2 separate regions of the Homo sapiens genome follow, and region 2 is linked to region 1. Evidence: promoter capture Hi-C in 16 types of primary human blood cells and fetal thymus (Javierre and others, 2016). All regions are on one chromosome and are shown on one strand. Each heading gives the region's core, a stretch centred on a gene start or on the middle of the fragment in contact. The rest is flanking DNA. Distances are from core to core; before and after follow the strand shown.

Region 1 (4,205 bases), core at 289-2,788:
TGTGATTTCAGGGCACTTCAAGTTTTCTCAGGCAGTGACTAACCTTTAAGTTGCTAAAAGTCATTAACCTGTTTGTTGTCAAGTTCTTGTTGTAAAGGTATGAATTCTAGATTATCCTTGTAGATGCCAAAATTTTATGTCATTATCAATAAGATTTTGAAAAGTTTCGATATGTTTATATGGTTCATTTTTCTTCCTCAATTATCAAAAAATCAAGGAGTCTGTCTAGTCTAATTTCTCTCTTCCTCTCAATAAATTACTAATACTGATCTGAATTGGAATTCTTCCAATTTACATTTTTGTCACAATAGTTTCTACTGACTTCATACAGTGATATGCACAAAATAATTTTATTGTAAGATGTATATAAAATTATACATGCTTCATTGTTAAGTATATTCCTGAAGAAGAAAACTTCTGTTGTGACTAGATGGATGAGAACCACATCCTGCACTTAAGATTTTCTACATCTGGTGGTTGGAATATATTGATTCCACTGTGCAGACTTCTGGTGCCTCACCCCAAGGGATGCCCTTTTATCATGACCCATCTCTGACCCTGGACCCTAGGTCTCTGATGCCAGGCGAGTTGTCTCAGTGGATAGTAGGAGTGTTTCTGGAAGCCATTTCTAAACGGAGACAGCTCCAATAACTTGACTATACATGGAAGTGCTTGTGAAACTTCATACCTTCCAAAATGGTAAATCCTGATAGTGCCCCACTTAAAACCGTTCAGTGTTTGCCAGTGCATTTTCAACTGTCCTTTTGGTGCTTGGGGACGTGAGGGACTGCCACCTCCACGTCCCTCAGTACAAGCAGACAGTCCCCCTCTGGGGACACTCAAAGATAATGAAAAATTAGCAAAAGGATTGAAGGTGAAGATTAAAAAGAAATGATTCGGATGGAGTTGCCTTAATTCATTTTGTTCCTTTCAGGATGGCAGTCTGTGTGAAACGCTGTATCCCTGGTCTGAGGTAAACCAGGTCTCAAACATCTTCCTCCCTGCCAACCCGAATCCCGACACCCACTAAATGCACCAAGGGGAAAGCAGCGCCTGCCAGCAGCTCTGACGGGGGACAGGAGTAGGGTGGACTCAGTCGTCAGCACGACGGCGGCCTCCCTCACAGAGGCGGCCTCCCTCACAGACGCTGCCTGGAACCCGCCGCCAAGCCCCCAGCAGGCGGCCCGCCTGGCGCCTCCCAGTCTTCGCACAAGCAGGGCCACGGTCTGGGGCCCCCAAGGCCGTTCACGCGGGCGCGCCCCGTCGAGGGCTAGCCTGTCAGCGCCTCACTCGCGGCCTCCTACCCTAGACGACCGGCTCTGGGTGGCGCCGCTCCAACCCCACGCGCCCAGCTCGCCCGGGAAAGCGCGCGCCACCCTTTTAACGGTTCTACCCCGGCAGGGGTGCGGCTGCTCTCGAGGCTCAGCGCCCGAGGCCACGCCCCGCGCCCGCCCTGGGCCCGCCTCGTGCCCCTCGGAGCCGCCTCCCGCCCCGCCCCCCGCCCCTCGCCCCCCGCCCCTCGCCCCCCGCCGCCGCCACCGCGGTCAGCCAGCGGACCAGCGGCAGGAGCCGTTCCCCGACGGGCAGCAGGGCGCTCGGCCTCCGCGTGTGGGCTGAGCGCGGCGACGCTGCTGCCCCGAAATCCCCGTGGATTTTGAGTCGGTAAGTGGCTAGGGAGGATGAGCGACACTGGGGGACGGAAGTCGGGCCCCGTGGTGTGGAGGAGGCGGGTGGGCGCCGTCTCCCAGGCCCGACCCCGGGAAAGTTGAGGCGAGGAAGAGAAGCTCTGAGGTGGGTCGGGAAATCTCTCAGGGCCCCTTCAGTACCCTGTGGACCCTGAATGGGAGTGGGATGGGAGCGAGAGCGTCGGATGAGGGGAAAGAAAGTGTAGGGGGCCAGGGGAGCCCGACGGAGGGGCAAGTGGCCGAGACCAAAGCCATCGCCAAAAAAGGAGCTAAGTACACAGCTCCCCTTGGCTCTGCCCCAGCACCTGGTGCCAGGCGGTGGGAGGCTTTCAAGACGATTTGCCCCCTCCACCCGGTGGCACAAGGTTTTCATTGCTGGTGTTTTAGTCAAAGCTACGGAAAGGACAGTTACATGACTAAAGTAATCACAGACACCTATTACCTGGACAGCTTTAGCCCATCCGAATGTTAAATTGTGTTTTGTTTTGAGAAATCCCTCAAATAGACCAAAAAAAAAATTAAATTAGTTATAAAGAGAAGGCATGAAATGGAAGATATGTTGGAACTCTCCAAGCTTCTAGTTTTTTGATATTTTCGTTTTAATTTTTCCTTAATAGTGCAACCAGATATATGGAACGTGAAATGTCTTTCACCACTTGAGTCATAGGTGGTTTATTTCTTACTCCCCGATGTTTCCTGTATGTTTCTCTTCATCTATCATTTTGTCAGTGTGAGCAGTTTACTTACAAGCAGTATTGGGTTTCAAGGAATCCTAACTTTGTAATGTTTTGAAGTTGGAAATTGAGATGAAATTTTATCTGGTTATCATATGGGAATTATACACAAGGTAAATTCAAATATGGTCTTTTCATTTCATTATTTCACTTTATATGATCTTATTTCTCAACGGCAGCGGTAGCATCAGTACTTTCCAAAGAAGACTAGAATTTATATTGGAGTTTAAGTATAGTACTCAGCTTCTAAAAACAGTGCATAGTATATTTCATATGCTGTGATCTATGGTTAGTATGGCAGTATACCATGTCTGTAGCGTGAGGAAAGCACAGTACTCCCTAATTTATTTAGTATTCTAAGAAAAATGGTAAATTGAAGAAATGGATATTATTAGCATATACCAATTTATTCTGCATGGCCTTATAAATAAATGTTACTTTTCACATTAATTTTTAAATCTATACACGCAGTGTCCACATGTAATAAATGGACAGTCAGATATCTTTCTTTTATGTAACAAATAGGCAAGTTTTGATATAAAGGTGTGAACTTTGTAGTCAAATCCTAATATCTAGCACTTAGTAGCTATGTGGACTTGGGCATGTCTCTTATTTTTCTGAGCCTCAGGTTTCTTATCTGTGAAGTGGGACTAATAATAATTTTCTTCCACCGTTCATATATGGCTCAAAATTAAATGAAATTATATTTAGTATGTAGTAGGACCTTAAAAAGGCATCTTAATTAAAAAATAAGATTAATAAGATTTTGGCCAAAGTGGTCAATGTATCTGCTTATTATCCCATTGTATTTTAGACAATTCTAGGTTTACTGGTAATATCAGGACTGATAAGGCCTGAAGATTCATACTTAGGTAAATTTTTTAAAAAGAAAAGGAACCTAAGATATAGTTAGTATTGCCAGGTGTAGAATAGCAACTGTAAATAACTAACTGATTTACCAATATTCTATTCATACAACTTGGTCTTTAAAGATGATTTGTTAAGTGTGTGTGATCTTGAAAAAAACTATTCAGCAACCATTTCTCAGTATGTATTAATAGAAAGTTTTTTTGGAGACATTGGATCAAAATATCCTTTAAAAAACATTTATACCACAAAACTATACATTTACATTTTTAAATTTACATTTTACAACCTTATGATAGGCCCACTACTTGCTACCCAATGTTGTAGGCAGAATTCTGTTTATTTTGTAACTGTGCTTTGAATCGTTGATATGATACATGGCTACTCTAGGTAGCACCAGTAGCTTCAAGGGAAACTTTTTGATCTCTACATTCCATGGATGAAGCAGGCATTAGAGTTTAAGACTGAATTTGTTTTGTATAATGACTTTGTAGTGCAGTTAAGTCTTTATTATTTTTAACTAAACTGAGAATTAGGTTTTGGTTTATGGAGTTCTGCCTTAATTATAATCTCGTGACTCAGTTTTACAATAATAATTACTTTTTATAAATACTTAACCTTTTTCATTAATAACATGATGGTGGAATGTACTATGCATTGTAATCCCAAACTTGTCCCCTATAATGTCAGTGTTTCCCTGCAGGCATCGTTTACTTTAAAAAAAAATATTAAACAGAGTACTGAATGACACCATCTTTTCTAATTTCCTTAACTGATGTGGATTTATATACAGGGAGCCATTGCTGTATCTTTCCTACTGTAAATTGAAGGGTAGGTGGCACCAAAAGAGCTTTGATTTTTTGTTTATTTACTTGTGTTGCAAAGTCATATAATGGAGTTCTGTAATCCCCAACTCTTG
Region 2 (4,542 bases), core at 1,407-3,906, about 17 Mb before region 1:
GGCAAAGAAAGAGAGCTTGTGTAGAGAAACTCCTGTTTCTAAAACCATGAGATCTTGTGAGACCCATTCACTATAATGAGAACAGCATGGGAAAGACCTGTCCCCATGATTCAATCATCTCACAGTGGGTCTCCTCCTCAACACATGGGAATTATGGGTGCTACAAGATGAGATTTGGGTGGGGACACAGAGCCAAACCATATCACCAGTCATAGAGGACGTATAGTATACTGGAAAGAACATGGACTTGATACACTTGGTTTGAATCTAAACTCCATCTTTTACATGACCTTACATAACTTACCGAATCTGTACTTAGTTTCCAATACCAATGAATAGAGATAATATTACCTTTAGCTCAGGGATGAGCAGTTAAGATTACATAAAATATATATAAAGTTGCTTGGTTCGTACAATAGTTTGGATATTTTTGTTTTTAAGTTGATTTTGATTACCCTTAGATAAGGGTATACACTTACCAGTTCTTCACAGGCACCACTATTGTCTTTCACCCAACTACATGTATTTTCATCTGCTTGGCCCTTGAGTTTAGGACACCAAACACTAGAAAATTCGTGTAAAGCATTTTATAAAATGTGAAGCCCTACAAAAATTCTAGTTACTTTTATTTTTTAAAAAAATCTGGTAACTGTTTCAGCCTCTCACAAGAAATAAAGGCTCTTCCCTCACTCTTTCCTCAAAGGTGGCTTAAAACTTTCATTTTACCCTTTCACCTTCCTGCAAAAAGCTCGCTCCTCAAAGCCAAGGTCATTTTATTACATACTATGTAAGTAAGCTTCTCACTGCTTGCTTGTACATTTTATTAACTACTGTGCAATCCTGTGAGATGAGCTAAAGGTCAAAGGTTAAGAGAGTCGCTATGATTGTTCTGTTTATTCCTTCCATGACAACTTGCATGAGATGTCACTGCAGTGAGGTGGCCTCTGAAAGATGGAAAAATATGCCTGCTACTTAATTATGATTTCTTTAGTCCAAAACTACTTCCTCCAATCCTGTATCTTTTCCACTTCATTTTTTTATATATTCGGAAATACCACTTACAGATTCATTTACATAAACCAGCATATTCTTTTAAAAGGTTGATAATTACAGGATAATAAATTTTAAATTATTCATGGTCCCATAAAAGTATCTAGTCAGATTGGCTGCAGGCTGTTGGGAACAGCTATTCTAAAAGAAAAGGCAACCTGATTTGAAAAAGGAAAGGGTTAATTTATTTTAATGCACACAGAGCTCCAGAAGACGTATTTTTCAAACTGTGTATTACAATCCATTAATAGGGTATAAAATCGGTTCAGTGGATTTCTTCCAGCATCTGTTGGGGGTGGGGGGGCAGTGGGGGAGAATGAAACAAAATGAACAGAATGGAAGCAATACTCATTAGAATCCTTTGTAAATGCAACTTTGGTTTCAGTTTATACATACACTCAAAGATTCATGTATAGGTATACTTAATTGAGTATGAGTTAATTTGTAAAAGGTGTTTCTTATTGTGAAAAAACACTCATAGGAAAGAGAACTTTTTTTAAAGCATAACTTCTAAGAACGGCAGTCTGACACACAGTCACATATTAAAATATAATAGCTGAACACAAAACAAGAAACACTGTGTATGAAAATATAACTTACAAAACAAGCAACATTTTACCTATAAACACCTTAAGCTATACACCTTACATAGCTGACCCTGCCACACTCTTGAGTGCTGCTGTAATAAATACATTTGTAGCACTATTAACCACATACTACTTTTAGAAATGCCTTAAATACATTTATCTAAAAAAATTATTTGTAAAAATAAAACCATCTTGAAGAAAACATGTTTTCACCTTTGATAGCTCATTACCTCAAAATCACAGCATCCGAAAATCAAGTCATCTTCATTTCCTAAAAATATGGCCTCCCTTCCCAATGTTCACATTTCTGTTAATTCCACCTTCTGTTAATACTACCTGACATTCCATTTTTTAGTGCTGTTTCTGACTCCCACTGTGGGAGTTTTGTATATCTAAGTCCTGTGGATTGTTTTGAAGTATTTCGAAGTATTTCGAAGATTTACATCTTCTACTCTATTTCCACTGCTATTATCCATGCCCAGGCTTTCATCACCCCATGCTAAAATTGCTAGGATAGCTTCCAAACTGATCTCTCAACCCAAATTCAATCTGTAAATTACTACCAGATATTTCTAAAGATTTACTTCATTACAATGTAAATTCTTAAGATACCCAATGATTCCTACCTTCTTTGAGGCAGTATAGTGTATGACTGGAACTATACTTCATTATTCCACTAATATTTACTTCTTGGAGTAAATATTGGAGTTCTTCATCACTCAACTAATATTTCCTAAATGCCTATGTGCCAGGCCTGATCTGGGCACTGAGGATAAAGAAAGAAAGAAAAAGATAAAGTTCCTATATACTCATAATGCTTAGAGTATAATAGGGTAAAAAGATGAAAATCCACATAACTTCAGATAGTGAAATTATACAAATAAAACTAAAAGACCATATGATAAAGTCAGGAGATTGGGAGAAAGGAGGAGCTTTTGGAAAGGGTGGTCAGAGAAGGCTTCTCTAAAAAGGTCATTTTCAAGCTAAGAGAAGAATGATACTAAAACCTGTATCTAAGATACTAAAGAAATTATTTCAACGCTAGAAAAATGGCTTATAATCTTTTCTGACAATGTGTTAGTGTTTATTATTAATCTCATTAACAATTCATTTAGTCATCAAATAATTACTGAGCTCCGCCCCCATGTGTCAGGCTCTAGGGAAGTGACAGTGAAGAAACAGGCCTGGTCCCTTTCATCTTAGGAGAGACAAAATTTTAAAACAAAACACAATTGGGTAAGTGCTTCAATAGTATTAGAATAGAATACATAATCGAAGGATTGCAGGTGTGTTTTGTTGCTTCATTTTATTGTTTGGGTTTTTTTTTTCAATTTTGGTGGGGGATGAGGAAAGGGAAGGGGGTAGTAGAGTGGTCAAGTAAGGCTTTTTTGTAGTAGGTGAGCTTTGTGGGGAATTGATAAATGATAAAGTTTAATGGGGGCAAGAGTGAGGCAAGGAGGGAAGAACACTCCCAGTGGAAGGACTAGCATGTGCCAGCTTTAAGAAGCAGCATGGCAATTTAGGGTATTCAACAAAGGCCAGCATAGGCAGCTCACAAAGTGAGAGGGAGAAGGGCTCAAGATAAAGCTGGAGACATGGGCAACCGCCAGATCATACAGAGGAAGGACATAATCATATTAGCACTAGCTAATAGTAACACATCCTTTTATATAGTACTTAACAGTTTACAAAGCACTTTAAAATGTTTTCTTTGTTCCTACAAATTTGTGTAGTAGTTATTATTTATTATTCCAAATTAATTACATCAATCCTCTTTAGAATGACCACAGGGTAAGGTCCAATTACTCAGTTAAATCACCTTGTCTGTTGGTAGTATACAGCTACTCGTCCCTCAGGATTTTATATATGCTACTATCATCTAGGAAACCTATAATGAACATACCTTCATAATAGCATTTTCTAAAAATTATGTAATATTTAAAACATTTTTTAAAAAGCATTAAAAATAACATCCATTTATCTACGACTCAGCTTACGGAAGATACCCTGACACAAGCCTTTTAAAACTGTGTGTTTACAGGTTTGTTTTCTCCATTAGATTGTGACTTCCTTGGAAGTGGGGACTGTGTGTTGACAGAGCCAAGATTTTGCAGTAAGAAATCAACACTGTTGTTTAATATAATGGAATCCCTCAATTCAGGTATAAATACTGAGATTCACAACGTGCTAGAGGCCATAAAGTCAATAAATCATTTAATTCAGTTCAAGTACAAAGAAATTTTGCTTTATTTGTAACGGATTTACAACTTTATAATAACTGATATATTTATTCACGATAAAACAGAAAATACAACTTTCGGTCCACATGTTTTCAGGTCATTATTAAAACATCCCAAGAAGGCATTCGTTAAGCAAATTAGCTACTGAAGTCTCCTGTATTATGTTAAATGCTGGGAATATGAATTCCAATTACACAAATTCCACGCCTTAATGAAACTCAAGTTTCTTAAGCACACAGAATTGATCCAAGGTTTGGCTGTTCCCAGATTTAAAGAACATATCCCACTCTAGATCAACTAAGGATAGGGAAAAGTGACCATCACACGTAAGCACTTACGTAGCCCAGAGTTAATTAGTTATTTTTCCCTTCAGAAAAGAAACTACTAGTAGGGAGTAAGAAAGAAGTTGTGTTGTGTGTGTAAATGTGTTTTGAGAAGGAGTGGGACAGAGACTAGACTAAAAGGAAAAGAAACTGGAAACCCGGGTTTAAGAAGAAAACTAAATGTAGAGTGGCATATGAGAATCACATTTGTTCACGCATCTTTTACACAGCTTTTCTGCACAGAGCTGTAATCCTTACACACCACTTAGTAAAGGGCCTTACAGGCCCTGTGTTTCTTGGCTCCAAAGAAGCTTCAGTAACCACCTATTCCGCCTCTTCCGC

What was found. The method cuts DNA at HindIII sites, captures the fragments that hold promoters and counts their contacts. A CHiCAGO score of 5 or more calls a contact.
Region 2: a fragment that was not itself captured here is called in contact with the fragment with the promoter of C8orf88 in region 1 in 1 of 17 cell types (fetal thymus); the score reaches 5.6 in fetal thymus.

The regions. Positions count from the first base shown.
Region 1 is chr8:90,982,571-90,986,775 of GRCh38, reverse strand. C8orf88 (chromosome 8 open reading frame 88) reads left to right here and starts at 1,538. Exons shown (of 6, transcript NM_001190972.2): 1 at 1,538-1,662. RefSeq lists a silencer at 1,355-1,514. The HindIII fragment of the contact is 2,363 bases long and covers 1-2,261 here.
Region 2 is chr8:108,444,023-108,448,564 of GRCh38, reverse strand. The region is part of intron 1 of EMC2 (ER membrane protein complex subunit 2); the gene reads right to left. Among named protein-coding and RNA genes, the nearest start is that of EMC2, 2.7 kb to the right of the region's middle. The HindIII fragment of the contact is 3,715 bases long and covers 799-4,513 here.